3 separate regions of the Homo sapiens genome follow, and all the other regions are linked to region 2. Evidence: promoter capture Hi-C in 16 types of primary human blood cells and fetal thymus (Javierre and others, 2016). All regions are on one chromosome and are shown on one strand. The core of a region is centred on a gene start or on the middle of the fragment in contact, and the rest is flanking DNA. Distances in the headings are between cores, read along the strand shown.

Region 1 (3,142 bases), core at 26-2,525, 2.3 Mb after region 2:
GCACGGGCTCTAGGAATGTAAATACCACGAGTTGAGACAGGTCTGGGCCCCGGACAGAGCGGTCCGTGGTTTTAGCAATTCATTTTAATTCCGAAGCGGTCCAGTGCATTTGCTTTCACTTGGTTGCGCGGGGCTGGAATTGATAAGAGAGAAAACCATGTACTTGTCCTTGTGGGTTGGGAAACAGGGTCACTGAATCCTGGGCTGGCTCTCACAGCTTCCTGGCAGAGTTCACACACGCACTCAGAGGCTGCGCCAGCCCTGTACCGCAGGACTGCGGGCGCTCCCTTGCCGGCACTCCTCCTTCGGTTCAGAAACCAAAGTGGAAACGCATGGATCAAGTTGCAGGGAAGTCTGACATCTGGGACAGATGTTGCTCCTCTGCCCGTGGCGGTTCCTCAGATAAATCCTCATTGCTTTATTTTAATTTGCCTTTGAATTTCGTTATTTTTGCCTCAATGCAACACATAGTCTTTTTTTTTTCTGCTTTATTTAACTCTCACGGTCCTCTGCGCTATTTTTATCAATGGTATAACTTTATTTTGGGAAAGGGATTATTTCCCCCTCAGAAATGGGGGGAAATAATCAAATCTCCAGTCAATTATGTCTTGAAATTTAACTCTGCTTTTACTGGTCCATCATAAAACATTTAAACCGTTAAAAACATGTCCCTCACTGATCAACTTTAGTTGTTTTGTGTTTTAAAACATGGAAATACAACCCCTGTGTGTGTATGTCACATTACGGACAGACCATATTAATCTCTTTCTCACAGAAAAAACATCTGCGTGTGTGAGTCTAAGTAATTATTCATCTAGGGTAACAAATTCTAGAAGGCTTGACCTACCTTCCTTCCTCCCTTCCTTCCTCCCTTCCTTCCTTCTTTCCTTCCTTCCTTCCTTTTTCTTTTCCTTTCTCTTTTTCTTTTTTTGTGCTTCTTTGTATCTAATACCCAGGGGCATTAACAACATCTCCTCTGCCTCGTCTTCCCGTGTGTAGAGGGACCCGTCTCACGTCCAACAATAGATACCCCTTTTATTATATATTTTTCCTTTTGTTTTTCTTGACCAACAATTTCCCTTCAGTTATTTATTTTAGCTGGGTAACCCCAAGCTATATGCTCCGTGTAAACCAGAATGGTGTGGTCGGTTTTGTGACAGGTAGTGGCTTCCTGAGCTGGCTCTGATGCGCACCTCTGAGGCGAGCCAAGGCGGAAACTGTCATTCCTAGAGGAAAGCGATGCCCGTCTGGGAAGAATCTGGGAAACCCCAGCATTCCTATGAGCTGCGGCCCACTAAGCGCCCCTGACCGCAGTGATCACTGTCTCCTAGATTTTTTGACAATGTTGTTTTGCTTTGTTTTAAAATATTATCGTTACTGCTGAGAAACGTGGACTCTTATGATGAAGACCTGCCGGGCCTTCCCCAGCCATTTCACTCCCTGGCCTCCTCCAAGATGGCTTTCATTTAGGGAGGGTCAGACTCATCTAGGTGACATTTCCCCGAGCCTTTCAGTCAAGTTGGTCTACAAATTCACCAAATTAGTGCTTGGTCTACATCTAGGGCTTCCTGCACGGAAAGGCCAATAGAAAAGTCCACGACTTGACTTTTACGCCACATCACTACAGCCACAAAACGGGGACCTCCTCGGGACTGGAGGCGGATCCTCCACGGGTCCCCGGCCAGGCCCATCCTCCTCGCAGCGCGCCTGGTGCGGCCGTACCAATTCCGCGCCGTGCAGCCTGGAGTTACAGGCCCCGACCGAGCCAAGATCTGAGGCTGCCGGGCCCTCCCTGTTTACTGGGGGCTCTGCTACCGGAAGTCATTTGACAAATCTCAGGCAGGCCTTTCTAATCTTTACTGCTCGGCAGAGCTTTGCAAATCTCTAAACACGCTGTAACCTTCTTCAAACAGCACGCCAGACACACTTGAAGGTTTTTTTTTTTTTTTTGAGGCCGGACGGAATGGAAACTGCATCTGCACGGGATCTCTCCACAGTCTGGCCCGCAACACTGCCAGCACCTTCCCTAGACCCTCGCCTCCCCGCTTCCCCCGCACGCGGATTCTCGCGCATCCGTGCGCCCACTCAGCCCCGGGAGCCCTCCTGCCCCGGGAAGCCTCAGACGGTCTTGGGCTGGAGACTCACCCTGCGCCCCTGCAGCGGGCTGCGGGGAGAGAACCTTGGGGAACCAGGCAGGACCGGCAAGGGTGGACCGAGTGATTTATGACCCTGATCAAACTTTTTAGGAAGCAGAAATTAACCTGAGGGAGATTAGGCCTGAGCTTTGAAGTTCACGGTTTTGTTTTCCTTCAGCCCAGTTCTGCCATCAGATGGTTCTTGGTTCCTTCTACCCCTCTCCTCCTCCCCCTCCTTCGGTCTCTCGTCACCCCACTTTATCCTCCAGCAACCCCTCCTGCGTTGATTTTCTTAATTTCAAATACAAATATCTGAACACCAGAAACTGAAGTTCCTGACAGTGACCTATTGAACAGAGGCATCGCATACTCCCTACATCCCAGTCTTCTTGGAATTGCGTTTTACGTTTGAAAGTGCGATTTTGGTTTGGAGGTCGGGAGTAGAAAATTTGTATCTGTTCTTTTCTTTTGCTGTTTCCTACTTGCCTTTCAATACCCATACTTATTCCGCCCTCGGAGACTGGCCCTTCCCGGCAGAGCAGAAGCGCACGAGGGTTGAGTAACTCTGCAGGTGAGAGCTAATTTTTCAGCGCATCCACCAGATACCTCAGGTTTGTGGATTTTCCCCCTAGTTGGCCAGAAAACTCACACCCAAACATGCAAGTCCTCTATGGCCTCTCCGTCCTCTTACCTTGGCCCTCTTTATTTCCATATCTCCCTCCTCCCCATGCAGATCTCTAAAGGGAATCTGTCTCCTGCGGTTCTTTCCCGCAGGCGCCTGCTGAAAAGGCAATTTCCTTGGGGGTGTGCCTAGGGAGAGAGGAAAACAGAAACCAGGATTGTTTGGGGGCCTGAAACCATCCAAATTTTATTGCATCCGCTACAAAGTCAACTAACTCTTAATGAGCATCCAAGCGGAAAAAGGCCGAAGTTTACTCCGTGTTAGGGCGGGGAATGGGGGTGGGGGTGATGGGAGTTTGCTTATTTCCTTCTGGTACAACCAAAGG
Region 2 (3,106 bases), core at 29-2,528:
CACACTTTACAGAAGAAATATGACTGCAACTGGAGGAGGGGGTGGGGACAAGAAAGTAATTGATTCTCAGCAAAATGCTGGTTTTCAGGGAAGCTACTAAATTCACCTTAAGTGGTTACCTGGTCAACATTATGCTTTAAATGCTCACAGGATGAAATCGCTTCCTTTTTAAATGAAGAGTCACTATGTCCCTTGCCGTTGTTTCCGCTCCTTCTAGCCTTAACCAATGCACTGTCCTTTCTGCAGTGGCTGAAACGAGGATGGGTTAATTACCAGACCTGAGATGGTGGAGTGGGTGCAGTAGGGTGCTGTAATTTCGGGTGATGAAATTATTTTAGTTTTTGTTTTCCTAGAAGGAGCAGGGAGTATAAAAAACGTGGCACATATGTAAAACACAGGCAAATGCACTTGACAACCAAGCACTCTATTTTGAAATTTAAATAAAGCTAAGATTTTTTTCTGGCCTAGAGGGAAAGCTTCATTAAAATCAATTAGTTAGTACAAACCTCCGGAGAATGTGTACTTTTTCTAAAGAAGGTTTAAAGAAGAAGGTGCACACAATTACCTTTCCTGGGTCCCCTGTGAATGTGTCACACCTAGACAGGTGGCTGAGTACAAAAAAATGTCCCTGAGAGGGACCAGGGTAACTCCCTGAGTTCTCCTCGCAGGGAGGTAGGTGTAATTAATCGATGTGGGTGTATTAAGAACGTCATATACATAACCAAGGAGGCTCCAAACAGATGGCACGGATGGCAAGCCGTAAAGGGCAGGCCTAGCGAGATAAAGTTGGTGGCAGGGCTCGCAGGTGAGGCCTGGGTCCGCGCGCTGAGGTTGGGGCCGCACAGCTGTAGCCGCGCGCCCTGGTCCCTCCTCCCAGCTGCGGCGGCCTTCCCCCCCCGCCCCCGCCCCCGCCCTCCCCCCGCCGCTCCCGACGCCGCCGCCGCAGCCGCCGCCTCCCCTCTGCCTCCCGGTGGCTCCTCGCTCTCCTTCCATCTCTCTCGCCCCCTCTCCCTCCGTCCCGTCCTCGCCGCTCCCCTCACCCCGCCTCTCTCCCCCTCCCCCAGCCCCTCCTCTCCTCACCCCACCCGGCCTCCCTCCCTCCCTCGCCCGCCCGGCGCTCGCAGAGCCGACACCAGGGGGGCTCTCGATGTAGCACCATGACAGGCATCGCCGCCGCCTCCTTCTTCTCCAATACCTGCCGATTCGGGGGCTGCGGACTCCACTTCCCCACCCTGGCCGACCTCATCGAGCACATCGAGGACAACCACATCGGTAAATGGCCCGGGGGTGGGCGGGGGTGCCAGGCGCGCGGAAACTCCTGCCCGGGCGGGGAGCCCCGGAATGGCCAGGGGTGGCCGGCGGGGAGGGAGGCGGCAGGGCGGGGAGGGCGCGTGCGAGCCCCGAGGTGGGGGTGGCGGGATGCGGGGGCGCGAGGTGCCGGGGGGCGGGGAGCGGGCTCGGGTGGGGGAGGGGGCGGGCGCCCCGAGGTGCCGCGGGCGGGCGGGCGGGCGGCTGGGGGACTCAGGGGCGTGCACGCGGGCTGCGAAGTGGTGGGAGCGGGGAGCGCCGCGGCGGGGCGGCGGGGTTGCGGCGGCGGGGCCGAGTGCCGGCGCGCGGGGCGCGGGGCGGAGGGCGCGGCGGGCGGCGGGAGCTGGGCGCTGGGCAGGGTCGCGGAGTTAGTTGGCCCGGGTGGTCGGAGTAGCCCGAGGCGCTGAGGGCAGCGGGGGGCGGGCGCTGCACGCCGCCGGGCGCTTCCGCCCCGGCTCGAGCTGTCAGGGCTCGGCGGCGGCTGCAGCCGCGGGGAGGTGGAGCGGGGGGGCGGGGGTGGCTCCACCGCGGCAGCCATTCCGCTTCCTCCTCCCGCCGCCGCCGCCGCCACTGCGTCCTGTCAGCGCCGGTTGCTAGGTGTGGTGCGTCGGGAGGGGGCCGGGGCCGGCGGCCGCGGGCGGGGGCCGGGGAGCTTGCCCTCTCCCTGGGAGGCGGCCGAGGGGCCCGGGCGGGGCCGGGGACGCGGGCCCGGGGGCTCTGGGTGCCCTCCCCTGCCCCGGCCTGGCGCGGACGCCCGGGCGCTGCGGGCTGAGGTCTTGGGTGCGCCCGCGGGCCGCGCCCAGCGCCCCGGGGTCGACGCGCCCTGGAGGCCCCTGCGGCGGCGCCCGCTGGAGAGACACCCCCAGGGCCCATGGCCGGGCATTTAAATGCACCCCGGCTCTGCGATTTGCCTTTCTAATGGTGCTAGGCCCGAGGTGCGCTGGCTGCGCCCTGGGATCGGCGGCGGCCTGCGCAGCGCCCCGGGCCCGGGAGACGCCGGGGAGGGGGCGCCCCGCAGGGTGGCTGCTTTCCCTTCACGCCTGGACCCCTGGACCTTTCAACAAGTCCTCTGATTTGCAGAAGTCATTGCACACATTTTCACACTTCTATTCGGAACCCCTGCTAAGGGAGGTGGGCCGGGTGCATCTGGCTTAGGCGGTCCAACCACCTGCGGAAGGTGTGACCGACGCCAGCGAGTTGTCCTGCGTGGGCTAGAAGGTGAAGGGTCCGAGCGATGTCCCAATGGGGCTGTCTAATCCAGAGAACCTGTAAATTGCCCCCAGGAAGTCCAAATGAATGCCATGGATTCAGCCATGTGGATGCAGCTCACGTTTCTACAAAGTTGAGAGAATAAATCACGACTGCTGTGTATTTATGCAGGAATAAAATGAGGCAGAACCCTATGCTCCTTTGCTTAGTATAGTGCTGTCTCTGCACACAGTGGCTGCTTAATAAGTGTTGAATGCCTGTTTAGAATGTGATTTGATGGGCCATCCGGAATAGGAGATAATCATGGGAAACGTCTACAAAATGTCTTTCAGAGGAAAATGCTGTTGAGTAATTGTCCAGGTTTTGAAACTTTTCAAGTTTTCAGGCGTCCTTGTAATAGCTTCTTCCATTTCCTCTGCTAAAGGTATGACAGAAGAGCTGGGCAAGTTTTGGTAGTCTTAAAAGCAGTTTAATGGAGCAACCAATTTGCTGATTCATATCATGATTGAATAGTCATAACTGAAAGTGCTTGAAAGTATTAAATCAGATTTTTCATGATGGCTAGTTTAAAATAAAGCGAAAACACCGG
Region 3 (3,174 bases), core at 437-2,936, 2.2 Mb after region 2:
ATTCATTAAAATTAAATAAAATTCAAAATTTATTTCCTCAGTTGCACCAGCCACATTAAAGTGTTCAACAGCTGCATAGGGCTAGTGGCTGCTGTGCCAGAAATCACAGATTATAGAACATTTTCCATCATTGCAGAAAGGTCCATTGGACTGTCCTGCTCTAAGCCTGGCTGCTCGAGGCCAAGCATAGGCTTAGTCTCTTGGTAGCGAGGTGGCTTTAGGCAAGATATTTAACCTTTGTTTCTTAGCTTTCTACTCATTAAAACAAGAATAATGATAGTATGCAGCTCACAGAATTGTTGAACAGATTAAAATTGTTAGTGCTGGCCAGGCGCGGTGGCTGACGCCTGTAATCCCAGCATTTTGGGAGTCCAAGGCCGGCAGATCACTTGAGGTCGGGTGTTCGAGATCAGCCTGACCAACATGGAGAAACCCCATCTCTACTAAAAATACGAAATTAGCTGGGTGTGGTGACGCACCTGTAATCTCAGCTACTTGAGAGCCTGGAGCAGGAGAATCACTTGAACCCGGGAGACGGAGGTTGTGGTGAGCCGAGATTGTGCCATTGCACTCCAGCCTGGGCAATAAGAGTGAAACTCTGTCTCAAAAAAAAAAAAAAAAAAAAAAAAAAATTGTTAGTGCCTCACACCTGGTAAATCATCATTAAAGTTACCTAGTACTATTATAATTGTTATTAGGAACCTTTCCACCAATATTGATTGAGCACTTACTAAATGCTGGGCATTTTCCTCATGTCGCCACTTTATGGATAAAATTGAGGTATGATAAGGGAACTGGAGCTTCCCTGTCACACTACAAGGGGCGGGGCAGAGGGTCAGAGCCAGGTCTGGTTCCAAGGCTTGTGTTCCTTGGTGTTTAATCTGTTAGGAGGGTAGGACTGAGTCACTAACCCTCCCTCTGGCGCCAATAGCCACTCCTGCCCTTCCTCTTCCTTTCTGAACAAGAACTGACTGGTTCAAACGAACTACAAGGTTTCAGACTTCAGATTCATTCTCTGTCTCTCTTTCTCTTTCCTTCTGTGTCTTTCTGTTGGTGGAGAGGCTGGAGATAAAAGGACAATGAAGTTTAGTAGCAGCTGTGTACCCAGTTTTCTGTGGTGTGTGAATTCTCTCAGTTTCTTCTTGTCGGTTTTCCAAAAGCTGAATAGTTCTTTTAAAAGAAAACCACTCTGTGACCAAATGAAGGAAGGGGAGCTCTTGCCAGAGGACAAAACAGGAAGAGATTATCTTGAAAAGCTTCTAATCAAAGTTAAAAATCATCTTATGTCTCTACTTGAAGGTTCAGTTGCACATACGCCTTGCCTGGAGGTGGGAGGTGCGTGGATAACTGGAGACATTATTAAAGAGGCTCATGAGAAGAGGATGGAGGTGCTGTTTTCACTTAATACATTTGGGAGGGGATTTGTGTCCTTCAGATACGTCTTGGGCTGGACCTGGGTTCATCTTCATTGGTAGAAATGGCACCCTTAATTAGGGCTCCATTAGAATTGTTTTCCCAACTCTGCTGCATGCTGTCAAAAAGATATGCTCCGTCTCCTCAGTGATGAATGAGGCTGACCCCCTGCTGCAGCATAGAGACAGAACTGGTATCTGCGGATTAGGTCTTGCTGTGTGCTTCATTTCTTAAGCTGCACTTTCAGTTGGCTACTGTTTTCCTATGAGTCAACATTTATATTGAAGTTATTACCATGAGCTGAAGTGCTATAGAAAATACGCCTTCAGATTTTTCAGTCTTCCTAAGCTGTGAGAGAGTGTGTGTGTTAGAGAAGAGGAAAGGCAACCAATGCAGCTTTTGAAAGGCCGTCAGAGAACTGGTTTGTTAGGGTGTTGAGATGTATCTGGGGATTAGACAAAAGGAAGAGGATGGTTAAGTGATTAAGCAAGACCAGCCTGGGCTGTTAAGTCATTTGATGTTAACAGTTGATGGATCAGGATTTATCTGTACCCCGTGAAAACGGAAAATTGAATTCAGTTTTTCTTTTTAGCTTTGAAGTAGTGGATTTCAAACGATTTTAGACATTTTATAATGGATTATGGATAATTTACCTTGAAAAACTGTACTTCACCAGGAAAAACAGGAAAGAATAGGAAGCTTATTCTCTCATATCTTTTCTTCCTTGATTCGCTCATATCTTTTCTTCCTCCCCAAGCTAAATCATTAGGTTTGTTTTTCTGTTTCTGAAACAGAATTTGTTGAAACTAAATTGTCGTACAATGCCTAGAACATTGGTCACATTGGCTTCAATTCTAGTCTCCATGAGGGCAGGTCCATTTGTGCATAATTTGTTGCTATAGCCCAACACCCAGCACTGTGCATGGCATATGGTGGCCATTCCGTAAATCACTGAATGAGTGAATGAGTTTGTGGGTTCTAATCTGTGTGTGTGTGCCTGTGTGTATCTTGACTATGAGAGTTAACATAATTTCAATTTCATTTCACTAATGTTGGCTCCTCTAATGTTTAATGTGAAGTTGAGATAACTATGTCCTTCCATATACCTGCTTTCCAAGTTTTTCTCTTGTGGGATTGAATTAAAGCCTACATTTATCTTCCATCATTTCTTTTTAGGTTGATCCTGGTTTGGGAAGCTTCCAGCTTGGAATGATTACAATAGAAAGAAGCTGTTCTCCTGATTCTTCCTGATGCTGACACACCTTCTCTTTTTAAAAACAATAGCATGGCACCTTTGATTACTGTTATAAAGTCCAGAGGTCTTCAGACTGGGGCACACCCACCCAGGGGGGTATATAAAGACTTTGTAAGGGGCACTTGGGCATCGAAGTGTTGGGTTATGTGTCCTCAACTTTCCTATCGTCGAGTTCCTAAAACAGACTTGCATAAGAACCTCTGGGCTGGGAGTTATTTACCCTCTCCTACATCTCTTCCTTTCTATCATCCTTTTGCTACTCTACAAAGGAAAGGCACCACCCTCCCCCATCCCAAATCTTACTAAAGTATATTGCCTGGGTGTAGAAACCTTTATGATAGCAAAGGGACAATTTCATTTCATAATACATATTTATTAAATACCTAATATATACCAGGCACAGTTCTGGATGATGAGTTACTGCAGTGAACATAACAGTAAAACATTTCTGTCCTCATGGGGCTTCCATTTTATCAGGAAGAGATGGGCAAGAAGCAAAAAAGATA

The links. Contacts are between HindIII fragments. The CHiCAGO score rates a contact against its expected background, and 5 or more counts as called.
Region 1: a contact is called between a fragment that was not itself captured here and the fragment with the promoter of JAZF1-AS1 in region 2, in 2 of 17 cell types (activated CD4 T cells and fetal thymus). The highest score is 7.7, in activated CD4 T cells.
Region 3: a contact is called between a fragment that was not itself captured here and the fragment with the promoter of JAZF1-AS1 in region 2, in 1 of 17 cell types (activated CD4 T cells). The highest score is 5.4, in activated CD4 T cells.

Annotation. Positions count from the first base shown.
Region 1 is chr7:25,857,645-25,860,786 of GRCh38, reverse strand. No RefSeq gene overlaps it. Among named protein-coding and RNA genes, the nearest start is that of LINC03007, 69 kb to the right of the region's middle. The HindIII fragment of the contact is 9,868 bases long and covers 1-3,142 here.
Region 2 is chr7:28,178,629-28,181,734 of GRCh38, reverse strand. JAZF1-AS1 (JAZF1 antisense RNA 1) reads right to left here and starts at 1,278. Exons shown (of 4, transcript NR_034097.1): 1 at 1,196-1,278. It overlaps JAZF1 (JAZF zinc finger 1), which reads left to right and starts at 940. Exons shown (of 5, transcript NM_175061.4): 1 at 940-1,272. The coding sequence starts at 1,158. RefSeq lists a silencer at 1,746-1,865 and enhancers at 1,720-2,219, 2,220-2,721. The HindIII fragment of the contact is 6,606 bases long and covers 479-3,106 here.
Region 3 is chr7:25,938,877-25,942,050 of GRCh38, reverse strand. LOC105375199 (a long non-coding RNA gene) reads left to right here. Exons shown (of 7, transcript XR_927114.3): 7 at 2,590-2,789. It overlaps LOC105375200 (a long non-coding RNA gene), which reads right to left and starts at 519. Exons shown (of 4, transcript XR_001745151.2): 1 at 480-519. The HindIII fragment of the contact is 856 bases long and covers 1,259-2,114 here.